7 separate regions of the Homo sapiens genome follow, and all the other regions are linked to region 5. The links are contacts of gene promoters, found by promoter capture Hi-C in human tissues and cell types (Jung and others, 2019). All regions are on one chromosome and are shown on one strand. The core of a region is centred on a gene start or on the middle of the fragment in contact, and the rest is flanking DNA. Distances in the headings are between cores, read along the strand shown. Region 1 overlaps KYAT1-SPOUT1 (KYAT1-SPOUT1 readthrough). Region 2 overlaps SPTAN1 (spectrin alpha, non-erythrocytic 1). Region 3 overlaps ODF2 (outer dense fiber of sperm tails 2). Region 4 overlaps GLE1 (GLE1 RNA export mediator). Region 5 holds the start of ZDHHC12 (zDHHC palmitoyltransferase 12). Region 6 overlaps LRRC8A (leucine rich repeat containing 8 VRAC subunit A). Region 7 overlaps ODF2 (outer dense fiber of sperm tails 2).

Region 1 (3,770 bases), core at 768-3,267, 140 kb after region 5:
CCTTGGCAGTGTGACATGAGGCAAGCCATTTTACCTCTCTGAACATCAATTTTCTATGCATGAAATAAATAATAATAATTCATGGAGGCTGGGCATGGTGGCTCACACCTGTAATCCCAGCATTTTGGGAGGCTGAGGTGGGCAGATCGCTTGAGCTCAGAAGTTCAAGACTAGCCTGGGCAACATAACAACACCCTTTCTCTACAAAAAAAAAAACCAAAACAACAAAAGGATCCAAATACAAGAGCTTGCACCTGAGCATGTGCACACATCTCTGTGTCTGTGTCTGTGAGCTTATGGGTGTGGTGAAGGTAGGTTCCAGGAACTTAGGAGGGAGGGAGGGAGGGAGAAGCCATAAGGGGTTCTCAGCCAAGAGCAGAAGGGTACAGGGGGCACGTAGGCTGCCTTAACCCAGCAACTTGGCCAGGTTGGTTGGGAGCAACTTGGGGGCTTGTGGGTGTGTTATTCCCGAGTCGGCCAGCAGGGGGCGCAAGGAGCCAGGCCCCTCGTGGCTTTGAGGTTGCTGGCCCAGGTCACAGAGCAACCTGCTGGCCCCAGGAGGGGACTACGCCTCACTTCACAGAGGAGGCCCAAAGCAGGGAGGGTGCTGCTCCAGGTTCCCGCATAAGGCAGGACTCCTGACCTCCCAGGCACACCTCCCTCCAATGCCCTGCGCCTCACCCCTTTTCTAGGAAGCAGGCCTTCCCTAGTCAGCTCCTCAACAGCCCTGGCAGTCACCTTTTATTTACCACACGCTTTCCTGTGCTAGGTGCCCCGTGGAGCCCTACACGTCCCACCACTTAAAAATGTTTTTCAGGCCGGGCGCGGTGGCTCACACCTGTAATCCCAGCACTTTGGGAGGCCGAGGCAGGTGGATCACAATGTCAGGAGATCGAGACTGTCCTGGCTAACACAGTGAAACCCCGTCTCTACTAAAAATACGAAAAAAAAATTAGCCAGGCATGGTGGCGGGTGCCTATAGTCCCAGCTGCTTGGAAGGCTGAGGCAGGAGAATGTTGTGAACCCGGGAGGCGAAGATTGTAGTGAGCCGAGATTGCGCCATTGCACTCCAGCCTGGGCGACAGAGCGAGACTCTGTCTCAAAAAAAAAAAAAAAAAAAAAGTTTTTCATTTAAAAAATTTTGGTAAAATACACATATCATAAACTTTACCATCTTAACTATGTACAGGTATACAGTTTTGGGAACTGTTTTCATCTTGTAAAACTGACAACTCTGTACCCATTAAACAATTACATCCCTTTACCCTCTGGCCCATAGCCCAGCCCATTTGCTGTCTCTGCGATTTTGACTACTTGAAATCAGGTCCCATCACTTTTATTATTTATTTACTTATTTTTTGGGGGACAAAGTCGTGCTCTGTCGCCCAGGCTGAAGTGCAGCAGCGCGATCTCAGCTCTCTGCAACCTCCGCCTCCCATGTTCAAGTGATTCTTGTGCCTCAGCCTCCCGAGTAGCTGGGACTACAGTTGTGCACCACCATGTCCAGCTAATCTTTGTATTTTTAGTAGAGACAGGGTTTCACCATGTTGACCAGGCTGGTCTAGAACTCCTGACCTCAAGTGATCCGCCTGCCTAGGCCTCCCAAAGTGCTGGGATTAGAGGTGTGAGTCACTGCTCCTGGCTTCCCATCACTTTTAATCCTATAAGAAAGATTCCTTCAAGAGGCTAAGTGGTCAGGTACAGTGGCTTATGCCTGCAAGAGAGGCCAAGGCAGGAGGATCCCTTGAGCCCAGGAGTTCGAGACCAGCCTGGGCAACGTAGTGAGACTCAATCTCTACAAAAAATAATAAATTATCTGGGAGTGGTGGTGCACGTCTGTAGTCCCAGCTACTCGGGAGGCTGAGGTGGGAGGATCACTTGAGCCTGGAGGTTGGGGCTGAAGTGAGCCATAATTGCACTACTGCACTGCAGCCTGAGTGACAAAGCAAGACCATGTCCCTCCCCACATCCCTCCCACACCAAAAAAAAAAAAAAAGGCTAAGTCACACACCCAAGGCCACAGCTAACAAGTAGCAGAGCCTACATATATATATATATATATATATATATATATATATATATATATATATATATATTTTTTTTTTTTTTTTTTTTGAGACAGAGTTTCGCTCTTGTTGCCCAGGCTGGAGTGCAATGGTGCGATCTTGGCTCACTGCAACCTCTGCCTCCCGGGTTCAAGCGATTCTCGTGCCTCAGCCTCCCAAGTAGCTGGGATTACAGGCATGCACCACCACACCAGGCTAATTTTGTATTTTTAGTAGAGGTGGGGTTTCACTACGTTGTCCAGGCTGGTCTCAAACTCCTGACGTCAGGTGATCCACCCACCTCGGCTTCCCAAAGTGCTGTGATTACAGGCGTGAGCCACCACACCCAGCACAGAGCCAATATTTGAACTCAGGACTCTGACTCCTACTTTCCAAAAGCCAAAGCAGCACAGATGCATGGATGCTCAATGGGAAATGAGAGAATTTGGTCCAGTGGCTCACATTTTATTGATGGGGATACTGATAACCAGGGATGGGGAACTGACCCACCCAGATTTCCCAGGACCAGGTTAGCGAAGTCCCAGTCCTGACATTTTTCTCATCCTAATAGGCTGGCTCTTCCAATGGGCGTTATGCACCTGGCACAGAGCAGCTGCTCAATAAACCTGCAGAATGAGAATGAATGTCTATCGCTTGCACCAGACTGTAAGCTTTGTTAGAACAAAGATTCTCTTCTGTTCATCTTTTTATTCTCAACATCTTGCACAGAGCCTGCCATATGGTAAGTGTACATCTCCTCAGTGAATTCCTATTATGTGCTATTCATTCCCTAAGCTAGCCACCATGTATACAAGGGTGATAGGATACCTTCCTTTCCTCCAAGGAGCGCACAATCTAATCAAGGAGACAAACAAGTAACTGGGCCATTTTAATATAATATGAGCCTTAATATGCAAATATTTGTATAAATCGACAACAAAAGACCAGCATCTCAATAAGAAAAAGTGTGAAAAAGATATAAATGGGAAATTCACAAAAGCAAATAGTCGCTGGGTGTGGTGGCTCACGCCTGTAATCCCAGCACTTTGGGAGGCTGAGGCAGGCGGATCACCTGAGGTCAGGAGTTTGAGACCAGCCTGGCCAACATGGTGAAACCCTGTCTCTACTAAAATACAAAAATTAGCCGGGTGTGGTGGCAGGCACCTGTAATCCCAGCTACTCGGGAAGCTGAGGTGAGATAATCACTTGAACCTGGGAAGTGGAGGTTGCAGTGAGCTGAGATCGTGCCATTGCACTCCAGCCTGGGCAACAGAGCGAGACTCTGTCTCAAAAAGAAAAGAAAAGAAAAGAAAATAGTCGCCGGGCGCAGTGGCTCATGCCTGTAATCCCAGCACTTTAGGAGGCTAAGGCGGGCAGATCACTTGAGGCCAGGTGTTCAAAACCAGCCTGGCCAACATGGTGAAACCCTGTCTCTACTAAAAATATAAAAAATATTAGCCGTGATGTGCGCCTGTAATCCCAGCTGCTTGGGAGGCTGAGGCAGGAGAATCGCTTGAGCCCAGGAGGCGGAGGTTGTGGTGAACTGAGATCGTGCCACTGCACTCCAGTCTGGGTGACAGAGCGAGACTCTGTCTCAAAAAAAAAAAAAAGTCAATAACCTTGAAAGGATGCTGAAAATTAGTCATAATTAGTGATACGTAAATGAAAGCGAAGTACTATTTTTTGCCTCTCAGATGGGCCAAGACAAACTTGAGACCCACCAAA
Region 2 (3,953 bases), core at 276-2,775, 160 kb before region 5:
CCTTCCAAAATGCTAGGATTACAGGTGTAAGCCACCGTGCCCGCCTTTTTTTTTTTTTTTTGACACGGAGTCTAGCTCTGTCACCCAGGCTGGAGTGCAGGGGCTTGATCTCAGCTCACTGCAAACTCCGCCTCCCAGGCTCAAGGGATTCTCCAGCCCCAGCCTCCTGAGTAGATGGGACTACAGGCATGTGCCACCACACCCAGCTAATTTTGGTATTTTTAGTAGAGACAGAATTTTATCACGTTGGCCAGGCTGTTCTCAAACTCCTGACCTCAGGTGATCTGCCCGCCTCGCCTCCCAAAGTATTGGGATTACAGGTGTGAGCCACTGTGTCTGCCTCACTGTTTTTTCACTCCAAAGTGCAGATGTGAAAAGGAACTAATAAAGAGGGAGTGAAGGCCGGGTGCTGTGGCTCACGTCTGTAATCCCAGCACTTTGGGAGGCTGAGGTGGGTGGATCACCTGAGGTCAGTTCGAGACCAGTCTGGCCAATATGGTGAAACCCAATCTCTACAAAAGTACAAAAATTAGTCGCGTGTGGTGGCGGGTGCCTGTAATCCCAGCTACTGGGGAGGCTGAGGCAGGAGAGTCACTTGAACCTGGGAGGCGGATGTTGCTGTGAACCCAGATAGCATCACTGCACTCCAGCCTGGGCAACAGAGCAAGACCCCATCTCAAAAAAAAAAAAAAAAAAAAGAAGTGAAAGGAACTAATAAATAACCAAACAGCCATCAATAAATAATATGTCGGCCAGGCACGGTGGTTCACGCCTGTAATCCCAGCACTTTGGGAGGCCGAGGCGGGCGGACCACAAGGTCGAGATCAAGATCATCCTGGCCAACATAGTGAAAGCCTGTCTCTTAAAAAGAAGAGAAATACAAAAATTAGCTGGGCGTGGTGGTTTGTGATTGTAGTCCCAGCTACTCGGGAGGCTGAGGCAGGAGAATTGCTTGACCCTGGAGGCGGAGGTTGCAGTGAGTCAAGATCGCACCACTGCAATCCAGCCTGGCGACAGAGCAAGACTCCATCTCAAAAAAAAAAAGGCCAGGCGCGGTGGCTCACGCCTGTAATCCCAGCTCTTTTGGAGGCCGAGGCAGGCAGATCACGAGGTCAAGAGATCGAGACCATCCTGGCTAATATGGTGAAACCCCATCTCTGCTAAAAATACAAAAAATTAGCCGGGCGAGGTGGTGGATGCTTGTAGTCCCAGCTAGTCGGGAGGCTGAGGCAGGAGAATGGCATGAACCGGGGAGGCGGAGCTTGCAGTGAGCCGAAATTGCACCACTGCACTCCAGCCTGGGCAACAGAGCGAGACTCCGTCTCAAAAAAAAAAAAAAAAAAAAAAAAAAGAATATGTCAATATGTCAACTCTAATCATGTTAAGAATCACTGTGTCTATTGTGCCATATTCTGGGAACCGGAGGATCCCAGGTCATCCTGGCCTTTGCAACTTGCTTACTAAATTACCTGTCTCCCAACTACTTAATTATAAAACGATGGCAGTTTCTTTATTTCCAAGCTCTGAATATAATTGGATCTATAATATGTGCCAAGTCCTGAGTTCTGTGCCCAGAGAGTAAGAGTAAAATATGGTCTTCTTTAGAGTTCCTTAAAGGACTTATGAATGTGGTAGGGAGAACACAATAATTTCATGGCAGAATGTGGCAGTGTTATAAGATGAATGATAGAGGTGGGTGGTCAGGGAGTGGAGACTTCTGATTCAGAAAGACTTCATAGAGGACGAGGCATTTGCTTTGGACTCAGAGATCTGTATGATTTGTTTTTTATATTTTTTATTTTTTTGACAGGCTGGAGTGCAGTGACGCGATCTGGGCTCATCACAACCTCCGCCTCTCAGGTTCAAGCGATTCTTCTGCCTCAGCCTCCCGAGTAGCTGGGGCTACAGGCGCGTGCCACCACACCCGGCTAATTTTTGTATTTTTAGTAGAGATGTGGTTTCACCATGTTGGCCAGGCTGGTCTGGAGCTCATGACCTTGTGATCCACCTGCCTCGGCTTCCCAAAGTGCTGGGATTACAGGCGTGAGCCACCGCGCCCAGCCGAGATCTGTATGATATTAGATGGTAGGGTTGGGAGTGGGAGAGGAGAGTGCACTCCTGGGAAAGGGAACTTTTTGAGCTTTCAAATGGACCCTGTCCAGGACCTGTAATTGGTGTTGGTGAGGGAGCTTGACATGAGATACGGCTGGAGGAGACAACTGGAAGGTGACTGAGTGAAGTCTTGTTTACCTTGTAGTAAATGTGATTATAGTGATCCTTGTCAGGGTCCTCATCAGAAATCAGCCTTCTCCAAAATAGGCTGACAGACTTAGGGCAGCAGTGTAAACTATGACTGCCTGTTATCATTAAATATTACAAAACTTTGGGAGGCCAAGGTGGGCGGATCACGAGGTCAGGAGATCGAGACCATCCTGGCTAGCACGGTGAAACGCCATCTCTACTAAAAAATAGAAAATATTAGCCGGGCGTGATGGCAGGCGCCTGTGGTCCCAGCTACTCAGGAGGCTGAGGCAGGAGAATGGCGTGAACCCAGGAGGTGGAGCTTGCAGTGAGCCGAGATCACGCCACTGCACTCCAGCCTGGGCGACAGAGTGAGACTCCGTCTAAAAAAAAATATATATATACATGTATGTGTATATATATATATATATATATATATATATATATATGTATATATTTTATTACAAAAACTGCTCTGAGCAGACATTAAGCTTTTCAAGGTCACTCCCAGTTTTTGGTTTTAAGGACTTGACGTCTGTTTTAAGAATAGAAAATAGGCCAGTGCAGTGGCTCATGCTTGTAATCCCAGCACTTTGGGAGACTGAGGCATGTGTATCACTTGAGTCCAGGAGTTCGAGACTAGCCTGGGCAACATGGTGAAACCACACCTGTACAAAAAATATAAAAATTATCCAGGTGTGCTGGCACCTGCCTGTACTCCTAGCTACTCAGGAGGCTGAGGCGGGAGGATCGCTGGAGCCCAGGAGGCAAGGTTGCAGTGAGTTGAGATCGTATCACTGCACTCTAGCCTGGGCAACAGAGTGAGACCCTGCCAAAAAACAAAAAACAAAAAAACGCCACTTTCTCAGAGTATACTGCCATGTGGTCAATCCAAGATTGGTAATTCAGATTTAGTCATTAGGTTGACACCTAGTTGTGTAGCTTTAGTCAGCACATTCTTTATTTGCCATTCTTGTCATCAGTCTAGCACTTAACTGGATAGAATTCCAATTTTACAATATGCAAACTGAAAGATTCGTTATGGAGCTCTCTCCCTACCCCTTACAAATGAATTCAGGTCTGCTGCACAGCATCTGCAACATTCAGCATGGACTTGATCATTTATTCAACCATTTCTTTTTTTTTTTTTTTTTTGAGACAGGGTCTCATTGTGTCACCCAGGCTGGAGTACAGTAGTGTGACTACGGGCGCATGCCACCATGCCTGGATAATTTTTTTTTTAGAGCCAGGGTTTAGCCATATTACCTAGGCTGTTCTCGAACTTCTGGGCTCAAGCAATCCGCCCACCTCAGCCTCCCAAAGTGCTGGGATTGCAGATGTGAGCCATGGCGCCCGGCCTATTCAACCAACATTTCTTGATGACCTCTGTATGCTAGAAATCAGGGATACAGGACCGGACATGGTGGCTTACACCTGTAATCTTAGCACTTTGGAAGACCGGAGGTGGGAGGATCATTTGAGCCCAGGAGTTCAAGACCAGCCTAGGCAACCTATCAAAACCCTGTCTCTACAAAAAAAATTTAAAAATTAGCCAGTCATGGCTGTGCGTGGTGGCTCACGCCTGTAATCTTAGCACTTTGGGAGGCCAAGGCGGGTGGATCACGAGGTCAGGAGTTCGAGACCAGCCTGGCCAACATGGTGAAACCCCGTCTCTACTAAAAATACAAAAATTAGCTAGGCACCATGATGGG
Region 3 (4,197 bases), core at 1,378-3,877, 250 kb before region 5:
TTGTCTGAAAAAAAAAAAAAGTTGTCTGAACTTTATATGTTAGCAAATATAGTCGACCCTCTGTATCTGTGGGTTCTGCATTCGTGGATTCAGCCAACCTTGGATTGAAGATATTTGGAAAAAATTACATATTTACTGAACACCTATAGACTTTTTCTTGATATTATCCCCTGAATCATATAACAACTATTTACATAGCATTTACCTTGTATGAGGTATTATAAATAATCTAGAGATGATTTAAAGTATATGGGAGGAGGTACACAAGTATATACAAATACTGTGCCATTTTATATCAGGGACTTGAGCATCTTTGGATTTTGGTATCCACAGAATGTCCTGGAACCAGTCCTCCATGAATACCAAGGGATGACTGTAGTTCTTTTCTTATTTTGATAGTCAAATAAAAATTAATGATGTACAACATGTTTTGACATACGTACACAATATAGAATGGCTAAGTCAAGTTAATCAACATATGCATTGCCTCACATACTAAGATATTTGTGGTGAAAACACTTAAAATTATCTCTTAGCAATTTTCAAGTATACACATCAGTAACTATAGTCACCATGTTGAACAATTTCTCCTTGTCTAATTGAAATCTTATATCCTTGACCAATATTTCCCCAATGCCCCCCAGTTCCATCTCTGGCAACCAGCATTCTGCTTCTGTGAGTTCGACTTCTTTTTTTTTTCTTTTTTGAGATGGAGTCTTGCTCTGTCGCCCAGGTTGGAGTACAGTGGCGCGATCTCTGTTCACTGCAACCTCCGCCTCCCGGTTTCAAGTGATTCTCCTGCCTCAGCCTCCTGAGTAGCTGGGACTACAAGCGTGCACCACCATGCCCGGCTAATTTTTGTATTTTTAGTAGACACAGGGTTTCACCATGTTGGCCAGGATGGTCTCGATCTCTTGACCTTGTGATCCGCTCACCTCAGCCTCCCAAAGTGCTGGGATTACAGGGGTAAGCCACCGCGCCCGGCCGAGTTCAACTTCTTTAGGTTCCACATATAAATGAAGTCATGTGGTCTTTCTGGGCCTAGCTTATTTCACTGAGTATAATATCCTCTAGTTTTGTGCATGTTGTGAAAGGATTTCCTTTTTGAAGGCTCAGTAGTATTCCATTGTGTATCTCTACTGCGTTTTCTTCATTCATCTGTTGATGGACACTTAGGTTGATTCCGTATCTTGGCTATTGTGAATGATGATATATTAGCAAATATTGCAGAAAAGACTGACAGTATAAATGGTTGTCTCCTGCTTGGTTCTAAGCAAAGAGATGACAATAGTCTCAAAATGCCAGTGCTAATGAAATGGTGACGTTCTTCTTATTTTTGCTTTTTTATTTGAGACCGAGTTTCACTCTTGCCCAGGCTGGAGTGCAATGGCACAGTCTTGGCTCACTGTAACCTCCACCTCCTGGGTTCAAGTGATTTTCCTGTCTCAGCCTCCCTAGTAGCTGGGATTACAGGTGCATGCCACCACACCGGGCTACTTTTTGTAGTTTTAGTAGAGACGGGGTTTCATCATATTGGTCAGGCTGGTCTCGAACTCCTGACCTCAGGTGATCCACCTGCCTCGGCCTCCCAAAGTGCTGTAATTACAGGCGTGAGCCACCACACCAAGCCCTGTTTTTTTGTTTGTTTCGTTTTGTTTTAACATTGTCAACCTTGTTTTTATCTTTTTTTTTTTTCTTGAGACAGAGTCTTGCTCTGTCGCCCAGGCTAGAGTGCAGTGGCACGATATCGGCTCACTGCAACTTCTGGCCTCCCGAGTTCAAGTGATTCTCCTGCCTCAGCCTCCTGAGTAGCTGGGATTACAGGTGCGTGCCACCATGCCCAGCTAATTTTTGTATTTTTAGTAGAGATGAGGTTTCACTGTGTTGCTCAGGCTGGTCTCGAACTCCTAAACTCAGGCAATCTGCCCACCTCAGCCTCCCAAAATGCTGGGATTACAGGCATGAGCCACCGCGCCCGGCCTTATCTTTAAAAATTAATATATTGGCCGGGTGCAGTGGCTCATGCCTGTAATCCCAGCACTTTGAGAGGCCAAGGCAGGTGGAACACTTGAGGTCAGGAGTTCGAGACCAGCCTGGCCAACATGGTGACACCCCACCTCTACTGAAAATACAAAAATGTGATGGGTACCCGTAATATCAACTACTCGGGAGGCTGAGGCAGGAGAATTGCTTGAACCCAGGAGGGGGGAAGTTGCAGTGAGCCTAGATTGCACCACTATACTCCAGCCTGGGTGACAGAGCGAGACTCTGTCTCAAAAAAAAAAAAAACCTGTTAATATATAAAATAAGGCCAAGTGTGGTGGCTCACGCCTGTAATTCCCACACTCTGGGAGGCCGAGGTGGGAGAATTGCTTGAGGCCAGGAGTTTGAGACCAGCCGGGGCAACACAGTGAGACTTCATCTGTACAAAACATTTTAAATTTAGCCAGGTGTGGTGGCACACACCTATAGTCCTAGCTACTCGGGAGGCTGAGGTGGGAGGATTGCTTGAGCCCTGGAGGTCAAGGCTACAGTGAGCTGAGATTGTGTCACTCACTCAGGCTGAGTGACAGAGTTAGACTGTCCCCCCAAAAAATTATATATATATATAACAAGTAATGTAAAGTGGTATCCTCACTGCCCAGCTTTTTTTTTTCTTTTTTTTTGAGACGGAGTCTCGCTCTGTCACCGAGGCTGGAGTGCAGTGGCGCAATCTCAGCTCACTGCAACCTTCCCCTCACGGGTTCAAGAGATTCTCCTGCCTCAGCCTCCCAAGCAGCTGGGATTACAGGTGCCACTCCCGGCTAATTTTTGTATTTTTAGTTGAGACGGGGTTTCACCATGTTGTCCAGCCTGGTCTCAAACTCCTGACCTCAGGTAATCCACCCGCCTCAGCCTCCCAAAGTGCTGGGATTACAGGGGTGAGCCATTGTGCCCGGCCACTCACCGCCCAGCTTTTAAAATAAGTGTCTACATAGTTGATTCCCTTTTGTGTGTCATTTTGCAATAACCTTGTCTCCCTCCCCTCAGAGGGAAGCTTTATTAATTTTTTTGTTTGTTTTGATACAGAGTCTCACTCTGTCACCCAGGCTGAAGTGGCACAATCTCAGCTCACTGCAGCCTCTACCTCCTGGGTTCAAGCGATTCTCCTGCCTCAACTTCCTGAGTAGCTGGGATTACAGGTGTGCATCACCACACCTGGCTAATTTTTTGTATTTTTAGTAAAGATAGGGTTTTGCTGTGTTGGCCAGGCTGGTCTTGAACGCCTGACCTCAAGTGATCTGTCTGCCTCGGCTTCTGAAATTGTTGCACTCCAGCCTGGATGACAGAGCCAGACACTATCTCAAAAAGGAAAGAAAGCCAGGCATGGCGGCTCACGCCTGTGATCCTAGCACTTTGGGAGGCCGAGGTGGGCAGATTGCCTGAGCTCAGGAATTTGAGACCAGCCTGGGCAACACGGTGAAATCCCATCTCTACTAAAATACAAAAAAATGAGCTGGCATGGCGGTACGCTCCTGTAGTCCCAGTTACTCAGGAGGCTGAGGCAGGAGAATCGCTTGAACCCGGGAGGCAGAGGTTACAGTGAGCCAAGATCATGCCACTGCACTCCAGCCTGGGTGACAGAGTGAGACTCCATCTCAAAAAGGAAAAAAAAAAAAAGCCTCTTGCTCTAGCCAGTTTTCTCCTTTTTTGGTTTCTTAGCTTCTGTCATCCTGGAGTCCCATCTTCAATTGGAGATGAAGGGTCAGCTAATTTGAATTCCCACCCAAAAGTGGTGTTTTGTGCTTTGTCCAGGCTCAGCTCCTTGGTGCCCATCTGTGCTCAGGGCTCCCTCACCATCTCGGTGCTTGCTGGGTAGTGCTCAGTGTGGTGGGGAACTGCTCTGGTTCTGGAGTCCGAGTCGGCTCCAGGGCCCAGTACTACCCCTTCCAGCTGTGTGGCCTCACTTGCCTTCACTTCTCCCAGCCTTAGTCTCCTCCTCTGAGATGGGGGTAGTGATAGTGCATGGCTCTTAGAGTAGGGGGCTTTGGTGAGTTCATGCACATAGGATGGCAGAAGAGTTGGTCAGTGGTTTCAGTGCCCCAGGGGAGGCCTGGAGGGCAGTGAGAACAGCCTCAGGTTCTGCATCCGTGGCCAAGCCTTCTGTCCCAGGTTCTTTGCCTCTTGTTGCCAGAGAAACCATAATACTGTCTTTTA
Region 4 (3,782 bases), core at 1,277-3,776, 180 kb before region 5:
CTCTTGGGCTCAAGCGATCCTCCCACCTAACCCTGCCAAAGTGTTGAGATTACAGGAGTGAGCCATTGCACTCAGCCAAGAAGACACTTCTTATAGAAGAAAGCCTTGGGGTACATGCCATAACAAATCTGGAACCATTTGATCTATAGTGCCAATAGTTCCTAGTTACCTTAATAGCTCCTGACGTCAGCCAGGTGCAGTGGCTGACAGCCTTTGGGAGGCCAAGGCAGGCGGATCACTTGAGCTCTGGAGTTCAAGACCAGCCAGGGCAATATGGTGAAACCCTATATCTACCAAAAAAATACAAAAATTAGTGGTGTGTGCCTGTGGTCCCAGTTACTGAGGAGGCTGAGGTTGGAGGATCACCTGAGCCCAGGGAGGTTGAGGCTACAGTGAGCTGTGATCATGCCAGTGTCCTCTAGCCTGGGCGACAGAGTGAGACCCTATTTCAAAAAAAAATAAAAAGCTCCTGAAGTCACCATACATGAACAATGATCCTGTATCATTTGAGAACACAAGTGGTATTCTGTATACTCTCCTTACTAAGTTTGGGAGGTATACCATACCTTTAGGAAGGCGTCCATTCATTAGAGGAAAAGAAGAGTAGTTCATTAAGACCTGATTGGTTAAATGGAGATATTGCCATATAAAGAGAAATGCTTTAGAAGAAAGTTGGGTGTTTCCATTTATTCCCTTGTTAGCAAGTTCAGTGGCATTGTGGTTGAAATTTTTGATAGGTGTGAAAGATGAAGGGCTGATTGTGCTTTATGAATCTGTCCTGTGAGTGTGAATTTTCATTTTCTGCTCTGACAGTGCCTGTCTTTCCCTCTAGGTGTGTGGGAATGCCCTCATGAAGCAATACCAGGTTCAGTTCTGGAAGATGCTAATTCTCATCAAAGAGGACTACTTTCCCAGGTATCAGGCTTGTTGAGCAGACAGCAGGGGATTAAGTAACTCATAACCAGGCCTCAGATACCCAAGGGTGCTATTACCTGCTGGTTTTGATTCAAGTTAAAAACACCTGTACTAAGTATGACATCTTTCCTACTCCAGTCCCTCTCGTTGATATTTGAATAAATGCTTTTGAACCTTAATGAGAGTCTGTCTTAAATATCATTGCCCAAACAAAAACACAAATTAGGGGCTGAGCACAGTGGCTTATGCCTATAATTATGCCTATAATTGCAGCTCTTTGGGAGGCCACAGGAGGAGGATCACTTGAGCCCAGGTGTTCAAAACCAGCCTGGGCAATATAGCAAGACCCCATCTCTACAAAAAAAAAATTAGCCAGGCATGATGGCATGCATCTATAGTCCCAGCTACTAGGGAAGCTGAGACAGGAGGATCGCTTGAGCCCAAGAGTTCAAGGCCTCGGTGAGCTATGATCGCACCACCGCGCTGCACTCCAGCCTAGGTGACAGAGTGAGACACCGTTTCCAAAAGATAGGTGTATATCATAGGTGTGATTCATGTGTCTTTCTCTCCCTGTAGAATTGAAGCTATCACAAGCTCAGGACAGATGGGCTCCTTCATACGCCTCAAGCAGTTCTTGGAGGTAAGATGCCCTTAGACCAACATGCCCCACACTGTTGTTGGGCTGGAATGCACCTATGTCTGACAAGTCTTGGACCTTCCGATGCTCTGATTGCACTCTCTTCCTTAGTTCTTCCAAACCCTTCTTTTTGTTCCTAATTCCCTCTTAACCTTTGGAGTAAGGGCTGCCATTTCCTCTTCTTTATATGTATCATTCTCTATACTGCCTGTGAGAAAGCTATGCTGAGATGAGTAAAATATATTTAGTGTATCTCCTCTCATTAATATATATTTTTTTTGCATGTTGGCCAAGGTTATTTTCTTAGTCTCAGGTCTGGGGAATTGGTAAGTGTCATCACTTTTCTCCATGAGATCAAACTGCACTTTCAGTTGGACTCTTCCCCTACTTCCAAGTGCCAAGAGATTGTAAAAGGTTAATTTTGACAAAGAATTTAGAACACTATAGTGGGTTTGCCAAGATAGCCTGCTGACTTTTCAGCTTCTCAAAGCTCGATTGTGAAAATAGTGATTGTGAAAGATGAGGTTAGCCTGTAGGGAGACAAGAGTGGGACAGGAATAATAAGAGCATTTCATTTGTTGTCTGGAGCAGATCATGCAGAAGTGGACATCTTATACAGAACCATCAGTCTTACTGGCTTTTTCCTTTTTGTTCACTGTTCCATAGGGCTGAAATATGGTGTTCCTCAAAGCTTCTTTTAACCATTAAGTGTTGGGAACACTGTTATCAGAAACTCATTCTGTTTTCTTCATCTTTCCCTGACCAGAAATGTTTGCAACACAAGGACATTCCTGTCCCCAAGGGCTTTCTGACTTCCTCCTTCTGGCGCTCCTGATGTCACTCCATCACCCACCATCACCGCTGCTGCAAAGAGGCAATAATAAAGGAACTGAAGACAGCTGTATTTGGGAGAAGTCATGTCAGATTCAGAAATTTGCCATTATGTATTTTTATGTATTTATGCCTTGTGACTAGGAGAGGAGATTTTCATGGGTCACAAAATTCTTGGAGGTCCCTTAGTAGATTTGGTAGTTCCTTAAGAGATCCACGTGATAAAATAAATGGAGTTGGCCTTTCTTGTTTTTTGCAAAAGTGATAAAAGGTCTTTAGCACTTGGTCTCCTCCCTTGTCTCTAGTGTCTTTCAGAAAGTTGGCAATACCTTAACAAATGCACTCTGAGCTGGAGGGAGCCCACCATTTGCACCCACCTACCCACCCTCACCCCTGTTCAGATGAATTTCCAGAAAGAGCTAAGGCTCATAAGGTTCCCTTTTAAGTATTATTTAATAGTTGAGGCCAGATACTTACATGCAAGTCTGGGTTATGGTTGTTTTGCCTTTCTCAGCTTGTGAAGTCATTCTAAAGCTAGAGGAAGTATGTGATATACACATGGACTAAGGCTCAGGTGACACTATGGCTAGATTAACATCTGGGATTAGGACTGGAAACACATGTCATTTTGAACTAAGGGAAACTCTTTGTCATCCTAATTTGGAATTTGGTCCCTGGATGGCTAGGGATCCATGAACCAGGCAGGTACCTTTTTTGTTTTTGTTTTGTTTTGTTTCTTTTCTGTTTGAATTAAGATGGGCTAAGATGGGGCTTGCAACATTAAACATGAGCTGAGCATCCATAAGCATTGAATTGGGATTAAATAAAGATGTTGGGCAGGAACTGAACACTGCTAATATGATGATAAATATGCCTGACTAAAGCCACTACAGAAATCCAGAGATTGGCTGTTAAAATTTGTTTTGTGGAAAGACTAATTCTCTTTGATACTGCAGAGGCAGTGGCCATGGATCTGTTCCTCTGTGCTAAATGTCTTGTGGCAGGGTGTGTTTGTGGGGGAGTGTTCACTGGTACTCTTGAGTGGCCTGAAGTGACCCATTCTATGAATTGTTAATTAAGGTGCCAAAAAAAATTAATAATAAAGCTTGGTTTTTTGAAAAACCCATTGCTGATATATTGGTTCAATATGATCAATTTCCTCTGCCTTGAGCTATGTAAATCATGATAGTATACAAGTCCAGGTATAGAGCGGTATGCATTTATTCCTTTTGGTCTTCTTGACCTACACCTTGGGAATATTACTTCTTTTTCTGTCATTTCCTTTTTTGGAATTATGTACTAATAACTGACCCTATTTTATCTAGCAAGAGATGTGAAAGTGTATTAAAATCTTTGAAAGACACAATAGGCCGTGCTTAGTGGCTCATGCCTGCAGTCC
Region 5 (3,746 bases), core at 1,207-3,706:
CAGAAGCACCACCAGCTGCAGCGCCAGGTAGACCACAAAGAGTGGGTGGTTGCGCTCTCCCACACAGTTCTCCATCCAGGGGCAGTGGTGGTCGTAGCGGCGGACGCAACGGCGGCACTCACGGCAGTGCCGAGCCCTCAGGGGCTGCTGTGGGCATGGAGGAGAGTGGAGGCTCAGTGCCAGCCCTGCTGTGGGCCCACCACTGAGGGAAGGAATCAGGGCCTGATTCTGGAAGGCCTTCTTGGAGGAGGGGCGAGGCCCAGGCAGTGGGGCAGGAGGAGGTCGAGGAGTCTCAGCTTTGGCCCAACCTCTCCCACGGGTGTCCGTGCATCACTCACCAGCACCAGGCAGTATCTGCAGCGCCGAAGAGGGATGGCTGGAGGAACCATGGCTGTCTGCTCCTCTTTGAGCTCCTCCTGGAATGAGGGGTGGGGTGTAAGACAGGGTCCCCTTGGGAGACAGATGGCATTGGCGGGCAGCTCCCCTAGGGGCCGGCTTAGCTCTGGGTATGGAGTTTGGGACCCATCCCATGCAGAATGGAGGTGTGGGGTATGGCGGAGCACCCTGGACTGAGGGCGGCTGTGTATGTTTGCAAGTCTCTTCCTTCTCTGGGGCCCAGCAGTTTCCTCACTACTGTAGATGGGGCTCTAGGGGTGGCAAGAGGAGTCACTGAACTGCTCCCACAAGAGCCTGCAGCACAGAGCCTGGCATGGAGACTGGTGCTGGTTGTTAGGTCCCTGTTGGTGAGAGTAGGGGCCCCTGGTTACCTGAGGCTGGGGCTGCACATTCACGTAGCCAGGGTCCATGAGTGACACAGCGAGGTAGAGCAGCAGGGAGCCCAGCACCAGGAGCAGGAAGGTGAGGGGCAGGAGCAGCTCCCCCTGCTCCTCCCATTGCCGCAGCTCTGGAGAGGCCGGAGAGCACAGTGAGGCTGGGCCGGGTAGAACAGGAGTGGGTGGGGTTGGGGTGCAGTTGGAGGTGGGGAAGTGTGTTCCTGGCTGAGCAAAGGCCTGGAGATGTTGGTTCCATGAGTGGCTGTGTGTGGCCAGCAGTTCATCTGCACTTTTATCTGGAGGGTCAGAGGGAACCATGGAAGGTTATAGAGCCAGATCTGTTTTGGAAAACCTCATTGCTAAAGAAATGGATCAGGGGAAGCCTGGGGGCAGAGAATCTGGCCAGGAGGAAGAAGAGAGTCGCTACAAAGGCCTGGCAGGAAGTGAGGGAGGAAGGAATGGACAGGGGGCTGCTGGGTCAAGGGAGCCAGACCTGACTGGATGTGGGAGAGAGGGAAGAGGGGTCCAGCGTCTCTGGCTCTGCAATGGTGAGAGACTGGTTAGGTCTGAAATGCCTGAGAGAGATACAGTGGGAAGGGTGCAGCTGGCAGGCTCAGATGCTGCAGAGGGGCATACGGAAGGGTCCAGCAGGCTTCAGCCCAGGGAGGTGACAGGATTTTGGGGAGGTAGGGTGCAGGGCAAGGAGTGAGGGGGCATGAGACCACCAGACAGCAGAGTGTAGACAAATCCTGTGTCCCTTGGTTGTAAGGGGGAGCAGAGAAGAAAGGGTGGGTTTTGAGGGGGGTTTTCTGATACGGAGACCTGAGCAAGTTTTTAGGCTAAAGGGTGAAGGTGGTGGAGGAGGTCTGTCTTGGGAGGAAAGCCAGAAGGGGCCCCAGTCCAGAAACTGAGGCTGGACCGCCATGGAAGGAGGGCTGGGGTCTGCTGTGGGGGACAGTGGGGGAGGCTGCCTGTGGCAGGTGAGGCGCTGGGTAGGGGGCTACTAAGAGGAATGAGGGAAATGGAGGTGGGTGGGTGGGTGAATCTGTGGGAAGATGGGAGACAGGCCGCACCCCATGGAGTGTTCTCTGGCCTGAGGGTTTGCCTGGACTTGGGCAGCTAGTGGCCATGGGGGTGTGGGGGGTGTGGGTGTGGGCAGAATGCCAATCTTTGCATCTAGTTGAGCCTCCTAATCGTATGGATAGGAAGATTTGGGGTCAGTTCCTGGGAAGGATCATGTGGGTCCCAGGATCAGGGGACATGGGGCTCAAGTCGGTCCTTGGATCTGGTGGGCACCGGCTGGGTCCTGGGATGGACAGGGCATTTGGCAATGATCAGGAAGATGCTGGGATTAATTAGGGATCAACGGGGTATCAGACAGAGAGCAGGTGGCTCTTGGAATGATAGATGGGGAGAGGGCTTCAGGAGCTGGTGGAGATCGGGCCAATCCCAGGATCTCCAGGGATTAGGCGGGAGACCCAGTGTGACCAGAACGTCTGGGGAAGTACGCGGGATCGGGTGGGTCCGGGGTCGCTCGGGGTCCGGCTCACCGGTATCGTGCAGGAAGAGCACCAGCGTGATTCCCCAGGTCAGCACGGTGTGCCCGGTCCGCACCAGGACCCCAGGGCTGAGGAGCGCCCAGGGCGCCATCGCCTCGGCCCGGGGCCCCACCCGGAAGAAGCGCCCAGAGGGGCGGGCCCTCCGAGGGAGGGGAACGCCGCCGCCCGGGGACTGGTGGATCTAGGCGTTGGGCGGGGCCGGACTGGGTCAGGGAGGCTGCCTATTGGATGGCATCTGCGGCCGAATGGACCCTCAAGCCAACAGGTGCCTGAAGAGGCTGAGGGTGGGGCCGGCGCGCGCGCAGCTGGTAACTCCCTCAACTCCAGCCCCACCCGCCAGGTAACTTTTGAAAGCGCCGGAGCGCGCGCGCACCTCCCCCGCGCTCCGCTGTGCCCTCCCCCGCGTTCCCCTGTGCCCGCCCTCGCAGCCTCGCGCATGCGCGTAGCTCCCTGGGCGCTTCGAAGATCCAGCGGCTTGCTGTGAGTCCGGGAGGCAAAATTGTACCCATTTCAAAGATGTGATGACTAAAGTCTCGAGAGGGCCAAGGCTCGCCCAAGGTTGCTCTGTGGTGACAGCTTTACCTCCTTGCTATGTATTCTCAGATATTGCAAACGGACGAGAGAAAAGTGGAGGTACGTGGTGCACATTCTGACTATGGGTGATCCAACTTAGGCGGGAGTCAGAAATCCCAGCACTGCCCCTTCCTACCTGTGTGACCCTGGGCGAGTTACTGAGCCCCTCTGAGCTGTTTTCTGTCTCTATAAGGGGGATTACAATAGTGTCTTCCTCCTAAGGTGTTTGGGAGGATTAAATAATGGAAGCGCCTTGTCTAGCACGGGACTGTCTTGCCTCTCCTGCTGTGAGCCACCACCTACAGGCGGACTTTCCTCACCGGAGGCTGCAGGCTGTCCTCCTTCCCTGTGTCCCCAGGGCCTTCTCCACTCAGCCCCGCCTTTCCACAGCACCTCCCACTGATACCAGCATCCTCCTCCGCCTCCCTCTGATTGGCCCCATCCCAGCTCCTCCAGGATACTCCTCTGACATCTGTTGTTTTTCTCAGCTCAACATCCTTTTTTTGGTTGGGGAATCGACTTCCCATCCCATGTGATTGGAGGGACTGCCCCTCACCCCATAGGATGGCGAGCGGCAGGCTGTGGGCTTTCGACTCTGCAGAACCAATCACAGGCCTTCCATGAGATTACTGTCTAGATGCTGAGAGGAAGGAGCATTCTTTTGGATCTCAAGCCTAAGGAATGGGATATAAGGCAACTGGGAGCCGTCTTTACGCTGGGCGGAGAGGGCTTACCCTGTCTGTGGCTGGAGAAAATGAGACCAACTTATAAAGACACATAGAGATGGATAAGCAGCACTAAAGGAGGGAGCAAGAGATGGTCTGAACAACATTGTCTGAGC
Region 6 (4,138 bases), core at 967-3,466, 170 kb after region 5:
CCTCCAGCCCTGGCGTCTCCCCTCTTCCTCTCCCCAGGAAGTGAGGGTGTACCCTTCTACACAGGGCGAGTCCCAAGCCAGGCAACACCCCCAGCCAGCAGCCTCTGACTCACCCCAGCTGGGTGTGGGGGCCTCCAGGGCAGTGTCCGCCCTGGGGAGGGTGGAGGCTGTGTGTGCCAGACGAGGCTGAGACCTCTCCTCCCACTCTGGCTCTGGGACAGGGGAAGCACATGACCCATGGCCCGTGGTGGGAGCAGATCCACAGGCTTGGAACCCTCCCGGGACAGGGCCTGTTGAGAGCGGCCCCTTCGCGCTCCCTGGGAGAGCACTGGAGGGCCAGCCTTCCCATCTCTGGTACAGGAGGGGTGCCAACCTCCCGCCTCCCCTCCTGCTTGGGAAGTTTTCCTGGCTCAGCCTTGTTTGTGCTTTCACAAAAGGCTCTCTGTGCCCTGTTTACCCGCAGCCCGACTGCCTGCCGCCCAGGTGTGGGAGCCACGCCAAATCCCTGTGGGCCCACATGGGGTCTGGTGCGTGCTGGGGGGGTCTCTCTCTGGGACAGAGTGGGCAGCTTGTCATTTCTTGACTCCCTGTCTTCGAGAAGCATCCAGGGGATGTGGACTGGGGCTGAACCTAATGACTGGCTCTGAGAGCAGATGGCCAACTCTGCCACACGGGGTCCTGAGCCTGGGAGGGTCTCTGAGTGGTCTGCGAGTTTTCGAGGTTCTGCGAGTCCTGGGGGGTCCTGTGGGTCTCTGAGTGGTCTGGCCCTGCTCAGAGACATGGTGCTTGAGGCTCCGCCCTCACCCAGGTCAGTCCCCACTGAATTCTGGGAGGGTCATCTGCGATGGCAGGTGGGACCGTGGAACGACAGCCTGAGTGTGCCCGGTGCTGTATTGACACATGATGCCTTACTTTTAATTCTCACGATAACCCATTTCACAGCTATAACCCATTTTAGGATGTAATATTTCCATCTTGCAGTTGAGGACACAGAGGCTCTGAGGCCCCAGTGAGGCAGTAGTGGGGTTGGCGTTTGAGTTGCCCAACTCTGGGGTCTGAACTCCTCCCTGCTCTGCTCCCAGGAGGTGAGGACCGCAAGCTGCTGAGCGTGAGTGTTACGAGGCAGGGCAGGGAGGATGAGGCTGACCTGTTTCTAATGTACGGATGGCAGCTACGCATAAATTCTTTTATCATCCTGAGAAACCACACAGTGAGGAAGGTCTTTTGATTTATTTCCAAGCAGTTTTTCTACTCATAAACATACCAGATTTAAATAATGGAAGAATGTATAATATAGACAGCCCTCTACAGTCTCACCACGAGTAGACTTAACTATATATAGTTCTGTGCATAGCTTTCTAAATTCTTTTCTGTACACAGTAATGAGTTTGTTATTGATATAATTTTATTTTTTGAGACAGAGTCTCACTCTGTCACCCAGGCAGGAGTACAGCAGCACAGATTCGGCCCACTGCAACCTGCGCCTCCCGGGTTCAAGTGATTCTCCTGCCTCAGCCTGCTGAGTAGCTGGGACTACAGTTGTGTGCTACCACGCCCAGCTAATTTTTTTGTATTTTTAGTAGAGACGGGGTTTCGCCATGTTGGCCAGGCTGGTCTCAAACTCCTGACCTCAAGTAATCCACCCACCTCGGCCTCCCAAAGTGCTAGGATTACAGGCGTGAGCCACCGTGCCCAGCCATCATTCTTGTTTTAAAAAATTGCCAGGCATGGTGGCTCACACCTGTAATCCCAGCACTTTGGGAGGCTGAGGCAGGCAGATCACAAGGTCAGTAGATCGAGATCATCCTGGTTAACACGATGAAACCCCGTCTGTACTAAAAATACAAAAAAATTTGCCGGGCATTGTGGTGGGTGCCTATAGTCCCAGCTACTTGGGAGGCTGAGGCAGGAGAATGGCGTGAACCTGGGAGGCAGAGCTTGCAGTGAGCAGAGATCATGCCACTGCACTCCAGCCTGGGCAACAGAGTGAGACTCCATCTCAAAAAAAAAAAAATTATACCAGTAACAGACCAGGTACAGTGGCTGACACCTGTAATCCCAGCACTTTGGGACACCAAGGCAGGTGAATCACTTGAGGTCAGGAGTTTGAGACCACCCTGGCCAACATGGCAAAACCCCATCTCTAGTAAAAATACAAAAATTAGCCAGGAGTGGTGGCACACACCTGTAGTCCCAGCTACTTGGGAGGCTGAGGCAGGAGAATCGCTTGAACCCAGGAGGTAGAGTTTGCAGTGAGCCAAGACCACACCACTGTACTCCAGCCTTGGCAACAGAGTGAGACTCTACCTCAAAAAAAAAAAAAAAAAGATATCATATTTCCTAATTTTTTTCATTGTGGTAAAATACACATGACATAAAATTTACCACCTTAACCATTTGTAAGTGTACACTTCAATGGTATTAAGTACATTCATATTGTGTATCCATCACTACCACCCATCTCCAGAACTGTTTTCATCTTGCAAAACTGAAACTCTCTGCACCCATTAAACGCTCACTCCCCATTTCCTGCTCCCCCAGGCCCTGGTATCCCTTCTGTTTTCTGTCTATTCACTTATGTGAATAAGTGAAATCAAAGTATTTGCCTTTTATGACTGGCTTCTTTCGCAGATAACACATTTTATATACTGCTCAGCAAAATTCTTTTATGCTTAATATCTCTTAGATGTCTCTGGGGTCACTGCATACACATCTACAAGGAAGGTGGCGTTATTCCTGATTTAAAGTTGTAGAAGCTCGGGAGGCTGAGGTAGGAGAATCACTTGAACCCGGGAGGTGGAGGTTGCAGTGAGCCAAGACCGTGCCACTGCACTCCAGCCTGGGCCACGGAGCAAAGCAAGACTGTCTCCAAGATAAAATAAAATAAGTTGTAAAAGCAGAGGCTTAGGCTAAACAATTTGCCTGGGGTCACAGAATTATTTCTTGCTGGAGCTGGATTTGAACCTACATGTCCCAAACTCCAAGTCCTTGCTCTCTCTGCTCCCTGAGATCCACCTGTGCCTGAGGGAAGGCTGGGGCTCTCTGGGTTACTCATTTAACCCCCAGGCACAGAGATGCCCTGGCCCTGGCCAGGAACCTGGTCCCATTTGTCCTAGGCACCTGCTTGAGCTGCCTTGTGGGAAGGGCCTGTTCTGCATGATGCCCACTTCTACATCTCCCTGGGGGCAGGGCAGGACCAGGTAGGGAGTGCTTACGAGTTCTGCAGGGTCCTCAGGGGCTGAGGAGCAGCAGCTGGTAGGAGGAGCTGCCTCTGCTGCTCCGGTAACCTGGTAAGATGCAGTAGCTGCTGCTCCCCGCTGAGCCTTCGCCTGTGGGAGGTTGGGGAGAGCACTGGCTATGCAGGGTAGGAATGCATGAGTGTTTCAGTGAGTTTTGTGTGATGAAATGGTTTAAGAAAAGTATAAAAACTAGAACAGATACATCCATATCAAGAACTCAGCTTTGTCAGACTTCAGTGTTTTGCAGTAATTGTTTCAGATACACACATGCACGCACGCACACACTTGAATGTGCGCAGGCACTTAAGTAAAATATTCCAAGCACAGTTGAAGTCCCTTCCCCATTTTCTTCCCTCCCTAGATACAATCATTATCTTGGTTTGGAGACTTTCCATGCATGCTTTTGTATCTTCGGTATACTTGGGTATACACCTTGTAGAAAACCTTATATAACATATGCATCATCTACAACTTGTTTTTTGGATCAACATTGCTTTTGAGGTTTATCCACATTGATACATGTTGCTACAGTTCATTAACTTTAATTGATTTAAAGCATTTCCATTGTATGATTAGAACAACGTATCCTTTCTCCTGTTGATGAACATGTGGGTCATTTCTGATTTTTTGCTATTACAAACAATTCTTCAGTGAGCATCCTTGTGTGTGGTTTCTCACTTATGTGTGGAGCAGCTTTCTAAGATGCATAAATAATGAGGAGAGGAGTTGCTGGGTTGTAGAGTACGTGCATCCTACCTTCTCTAAGAGTTCACAGTTTTTGCCAATTGGGGGAGTGAAGTGATATGTGATCGTTTTAATTTACATTCCTTGATTACTAGCAAGGCTAAGAATTATTTCATACATTGGTTCCATTTGCATTTTTCCCCTGTGAATTGCCT
Region 7 (4,111 bases), core at 1,612-4,111, 230 kb before region 5:
CCTGTGTGCTCCGCAGCTGTCCTCAGCTCCACACCCACAGCTGGGAGATGCCAGCAGACACCGAGCCGTAGAATTTCTTTTTTTCTCTTGCTTTAGCTGCTTCTCCTGACTCTTTAACAGATGCACTGCCTGAGATTCTGTCCTGAAAGAAGCAAGCATCCCTTTCTCCCAGAAGCAGTCTGTCTCTGGGTTACTGGAACCATGCCTACGGCCTGCAGTGTCCAAGAAATTATATACCACTCATTTGCAGCGTGACCTTGGGCAAGGCCCCTTTCCCACTCTTGACGTGTGTACTTGTGATAATTAGAAAAGGGGCTACCATTTTTTGAGCACCTCTTCTGTGTTCCTGCATTCTCTCATTTAATTCCATCAGGAACTCTGTGAGGTGCATGTGTTATTTTCCCCATTTTACAGAAAGCAGCCCAAGGCATAGAGAGGAGAAGTAATTCCCCACCATCACAGAGCTAGTACCTAGTAAGCAGGGATTGGAACCCAGCCAGCTCTGTCTGGTTCCCAAGCCCACATTCTCAGTACTGTAACCTTACATTGCCTGCCTTCTCCGTTGAACCTGAGCATTCTCAGGGACTTTGAGCCTTGATAGCTGAGGCTTCTGCATAAAACAGCCCTCTGGGTAAATTCTCAAACTTGCCAACTCAAAAGGATTGACAGATTTCCTGTTGTCTTGCCTGCACTTGTCCCCAGTTAAGAGGAGGTTGAGATCAATAGTACCAGCAACATAACAGGTAAAGCTCTGTGGTTGGTTTGTATGGGCCAGTTAGCCCTGCCAGCTGTTTCTGCCTTCTCATGTCTGTCCTGGATCCTAGCTGGGTCTCTCTGAGTGGCCTCCCCTGATCGAGAAAGCATCTTTGTCATTCTTTAGCATCAAACCTGGTTTCTCCCAGTGTGGGGAGAGCCTTTTGTCTTTGGAGTTGGGCCTAACCTGTCCCTGCTGTCCTTTCTCCTCTAGGTTGTGCGTTGAGACTTGGACACCTGCTGAGGGCACTGTGCCCCTTTCCTGGGTGTGGACAACAGGTCATAGGGAAAGGGGAGGGCTCTAGCGGGAAATTCCTTTGTAAACCAGTCTGTGTTCCTGTCATTTTAGATCGAACACCAGGGGGACAAGCTGGAGATGGCGAGAGAGAAACATCAGGCTTCCCAGAAGGAAAATAAACAGCTGAGTCTGAAGGTGGATGAACTGGAGAGGTTAGAGGCACTTGGTCCCATCTCTGTCCTCTTCCTAGGACCTGAGACTTTCAGCCACTTAGCTGTTTTTTGCTTAGTGTGCGGAAGTGTTGAGGGACTCGAGGCCCTGGAAGGTACTAGGCAGACCTCAGAGGAAAAGCTGCTTCCATTTCAGTGGTAAGCATTGTGGGAGAGAGCAAGGGGGCCTCTCAGCCTGGGGAGACACTCCATGACAGCATGATCAGGATCTGCCCACCTGTAGGCACCACCTGTCCCAAAAGGCATGCCTGGTCCAGGCCTGCCAGGAGGGCCCAGTTTGAATGGAGCAGCCAGTATACTGTGGTGGGGGCACTTCCCCACTCTTTTCTGCCCTTTCTTGCCAGTCACCCTTCCCAAGACCTTTCTGATCTGACCGTTCTCTGTTATTTACGGATTGTTGGAGGCAGTCAGAGGTGAAGGGTACGGCTTTGGGAATCAGAAGCCCTGGCCTTGGGGCCCAGCTCTGCCACTTACCAGCATTGTGATCTTGAGCAAATCATTTAATTCCTTTGAAGCTCAATTTCCTCCTTTTGAGGAAAGGGTCAAGGTAGAGTTTATCTATCTATCTATCTATCTATCTATCATCTATCTATCATGTCACTCTGTCACCCAGGCTGGAGTGCAGTGGTGCAATCTCAGCTCACTGCAACCTCGACCTCCTGGGCTCAAGCAATTCTCCTGCCACAGCCTCCCAAGTAGCTGGGACTACAGGCGTATGCCACCATGCCTGGCTAATTTTTGTATTTTTTGTAGAGATGGGGTTTCGCCGTGTTGCCCAGGCTGGTCCTGAACTCCTGGGTTCAAGTGATCCACCCACCTAGGCCTCCTAGAGTGCTGGGAGTACAGGCGGGAGCCACCACACCTGGCTGATAATAATCTTTTCATGGTGGTGGTGTGAGTCTTCAATGATATAATCCTGGTAAAGGTCCTAGCATGTTACCTGGCATAGAGAAGCGCTCAGTATAGCTTAGAACATGTTATTAGTTAGCTGGTATTATCCCAGTTTTAAATATGAGGAAACTGAGCTTGGGGAGGAGTTAAGTGACTTTCCCAGCATCACACTGTTGGTACCTGGCAAAGCATGACTTAGACCCGTGACTGTCTTCCTCGAGAGCTTCTGTGAGCATCTCTAAGAGGTAGGCAAGAGGCCGGGCGTGGTGTCTCACGCCTGTAATCCCAGCGTTTTGGGAGGCCGAGGCGGGCGGATCACGAGGTCAGGAGATCGAGGCCATCCTGGCTAACACGGTGAAATCCCGTCTCTACTAAAAAAAAAAAAAAAAAAAAAAAATATATATATATATATATATATATATATATATATATATATGTATAAAATTAGCCGGGCGCAGTGGCGGGCGCCTGTAGTCCCAGCTACTCGGAAGGCTGAGGCAGGAGAATGGCGTGAACCCGGGAGGCGGAGCTTGCATTGAGCCGAGATAGCACCACTGCACTCCAGCCTGGGCGAAAGAGCAAGACTCCATCTCAAAAAAAAAGAGGTGGGCAAGAGTCCTCCAGCCCTGGTCCCAGCCTTAGTTTCAGAGGTGAAGGTGCCTGACATCCTAGGAGGCCCTAAGTGCCTCAGGTGGCCAGTGCACTTGCAAGGAGGCTACAACCAAGTGGGCTCCTTCCAGGCTCCACCTCTGCTCTGCCCTGCCAGCCTTGGAAATGGCAGCTAGATCCCCCAGGCCCTGCAGAGCTCCTTAAATTGGAAGGCATCCTGGAAGTGCACTGAGGACAGTGTGTGTATATCGGGATGGCCATATTTGCCCTATGGCTGGTCACACAAGATGTTGAGTGGTGTAGCTGAAGTCCCTTTGCTGTGGGAGGCAGCAGTGAACAGCAGAAGTTGCAGGCTTAGGTTTTGGTTACAGACTTGCCAGCTGTGCTGACTTCAGGCCAATGAATTCCCCTCTCTGAGGCTCAGTTTCTTCATTTCTGAAGTGGGGATAATAATGGTACCATTTTTCTGAGCTGCAAGTTGCTGTGTTCCATGTGATGCTATCCACACTTAACAAAGCCCACGGTCAGTCTCTGCGTTCCCACCCTTCACTCTGTTCTCTAACCAGTTGCTCCAGCTGCACAGTTCTTTGGTCGCCTTGCTGATCTGCAGATTTCTTTGGCTTATTCCTGTGGCTCCTTGGAGATTCTTGGCATGATGAGATCCCCAGTCCAGGAGAGGCTGGCAGCCCCCTGGCGGGGTGGAACATGACAGGTTGGGGTATGCCCAGGATCTGATTGAGTGCTTTCACCTAGGAAACTGGAGGCGACCAGTGCCCAGAATATCGAGTTCCTACAGGTGATTGCCAAGAGGGAGGAGGCAATCCACCAGTCCCAGCTGCGGCTGGAGGAGAAAACACGGGAATGTGGGACCCTGGCAAGGCAGTTGGAGAGTGCCATTGAAGATGCGAGGAGGCAGGTCAGTCCCGATTTCATGAATGACTAGCTCTGTGACCTTGGGCAAATCACCTAAACTCTCAGCTTATTTCTCCATCTGAAAAATGGGCACACAGTAGTACCCGCTTCATGAATTAGTTGTAAGGATCACATTTTCATCGTAGAGGGCTCAGCACTTGATATCTGATGATTGCTCATTTACTCACTACCCTCTTGAGCCTCACATAGGCTTACCACATCTTAGGTGGTGACTCCTGGAGCACTGGCAAAGCTGGGTGGCAGGCATAGTCCCCATAGTTAGTTCCTGCCCCAGCGTTCTAGAGAACACAGTCCACAATGATGTGCAAGTGCTGTCTGCAAGACCAGATAGTGGGCCCAGCCTTCTCTTTGCCAAGTGTTCCCCATGTCCGGTAAACCAGTCTCATGTCTGGGCCTTTGAATGTGCAGGTGGAACAAACCAAGGAGCACGCACTCTCCAAGGAGCGAGCAGCCCAGA

The links. The method cuts DNA at HindIII sites, captures the fragments that hold promoters and counts their contacts. A contact is called where the count stands out against the background at its distance.
Region 1: a fragment that was not itself captured here is called in contact with the fragment with the promoter of ZDHHC12 in region 5 in 2 of the 25 tissues and cell types used here (hippocampus and lymphoblastoid cells).
Region 2: a contact is called between a fragment that was not itself captured here and the fragment with the promoter of ZDHHC12 in region 5, in 3 of the 25 tissues and cell types used here (IMR-90 fibroblasts, adrenal gland and mesenchymal stem cells).
Region 3: a contact is called between a fragment that was not itself captured here and the fragment with the promoter of ZDHHC12 in region 5, in 4 of the 25 tissues and cell types used here (dorsolateral prefrontal cortex, liver, mesenchymal stem cells and 1 more).
Region 4: a fragment that was not itself captured here is called in contact with the fragment with the promoter of ZDHHC12 in region 5 in 9 of the 25 tissues and cell types used here (adrenal gland, aorta, dorsolateral prefrontal cortex and 6 more).
Region 6: a fragment that was not itself captured here is called in contact with the fragment with the promoter of ZDHHC12 in region 5 in 2 of the 25 tissues and cell types used here (liver and spleen).
Region 7: a fragment that was not itself captured here is called in contact with the fragment with the promoter of ZDHHC12 in region 5 in 1 of the 25 tissues and cell types used here (dorsolateral prefrontal cortex).

What each region holds. Positions count from the first base shown.
Region 1 is chr9:128,863,265-128,867,034 of GRCh38, forward strand. The region is part of intron 1 of KYAT1-SPOUT1 (KYAT1-SPOUT1 readthrough); the gene reads right to left. All of the region lies in intron 1 of KYAT1 (kynurenine aminotransferase 1), which reads right to left. Among named protein-coding and RNA genes, the nearest start is that of KYAT1, 17 kb to the right of the region's middle. RefSeq lists an enhancer at 326-620. The HindIII fragment of the contact is 3,497 bases long and covers 270-3,766 here.
Region 2 is chr9:128,560,338-128,564,290 of GRCh38, forward strand. The region is part of intron 1 of SPTAN1 (spectrin alpha, non-erythrocytic 1); the gene reads left to right. Among named protein-coding and RNA genes, the nearest start is that of SPTAN1, 9.7 kb to the left of the region's middle. The HindIII fragment of the contact is 5,340 bases long and covers 1-3,953 here.
Region 3 is chr9:128,474,958-128,479,154 of GRCh38, forward strand. The region is part of intron 8 of ODF2 (outer dense fiber of sperm tails 2); the gene reads left to right. Among named protein-coding and RNA genes, the nearest start is that of ODF2-AS1, 4.0 kb to the left of the region's middle. The HindIII fragment of the contact is 8,207 bases long and covers 1-4,197 here.
Region 4 is chr9:128,538,784-128,542,565 of GRCh38, forward strand. GLE1 (GLE1 RNA export mediator) reads left to right here. Exons shown (of 16, transcript NM_001003722.2): 14 at 833-915; 15 at 1,492-1,555; 16 at 2,319-3,505. The coding sequence ends at 2,387. The region is part of intron 2 of LOC101929270 (a long non-coding RNA gene); the gene reads right to left. Among named protein-coding and RNA genes, the nearest start is that of SPTAN1, 12 kb to the right of the region's middle. The HindIII fragment of the contact is 3,623 bases long and covers 716-3,782 here.
Region 5 is chr9:128,721,671-128,725,416 of GRCh38, forward strand. ZDHHC12 (zDHHC palmitoyltransferase 12) reads right to left here and starts at 2,457. Exons shown (of 5, transcript NM_032799.5): 1 at 2,324-2,457; 2 at 768-904; 3 at 339-416; 4 at 1-147. The coding sequence starts at 2,423. ZDHHC12-DT (ZDHHC12 divergent transcript) reads left to right here and starts at 2,792. Exons shown (of 2, transcript NR_046240.1): 1 at 2,792-2,965. RefSeq lists a silencer at 2,346-2,825. The HindIII fragment of the contact is 17,684 bases long and covers 1-3,746 here.
Region 6 is chr9:128,892,483-128,896,620 of GRCh38, forward strand. The region is part of intron 2 of LRRC8A (leucine rich repeat containing 8 VRAC subunit A); the gene reads left to right. Among named protein-coding and RNA genes, the nearest start is that of LRRC8A, 12 kb to the left of the region's middle. RefSeq lists an enhancer at 1-369. The HindIII fragment of the contact is 8,143 bases long and covers 1-4,138 here.
Region 7 is chr9:128,494,939-128,499,049 of GRCh38, forward strand. It overlaps ODF2 (outer dense fiber of sperm tails 2), which reads left to right. Exons shown (of 21, transcript NM_001351578.2): 18 at 1,103-1,203; 19 at 3,475-3,637; 20 at 4,063-4,111. Among named protein-coding and RNA genes, the nearest start is that of GLE1, 7.7 kb to the right of the region's middle. RefSeq lists enhancers at 1-348, 892-1,186. The HindIII fragment of the contact is 9,273 bases long and covers 1-4,111 here.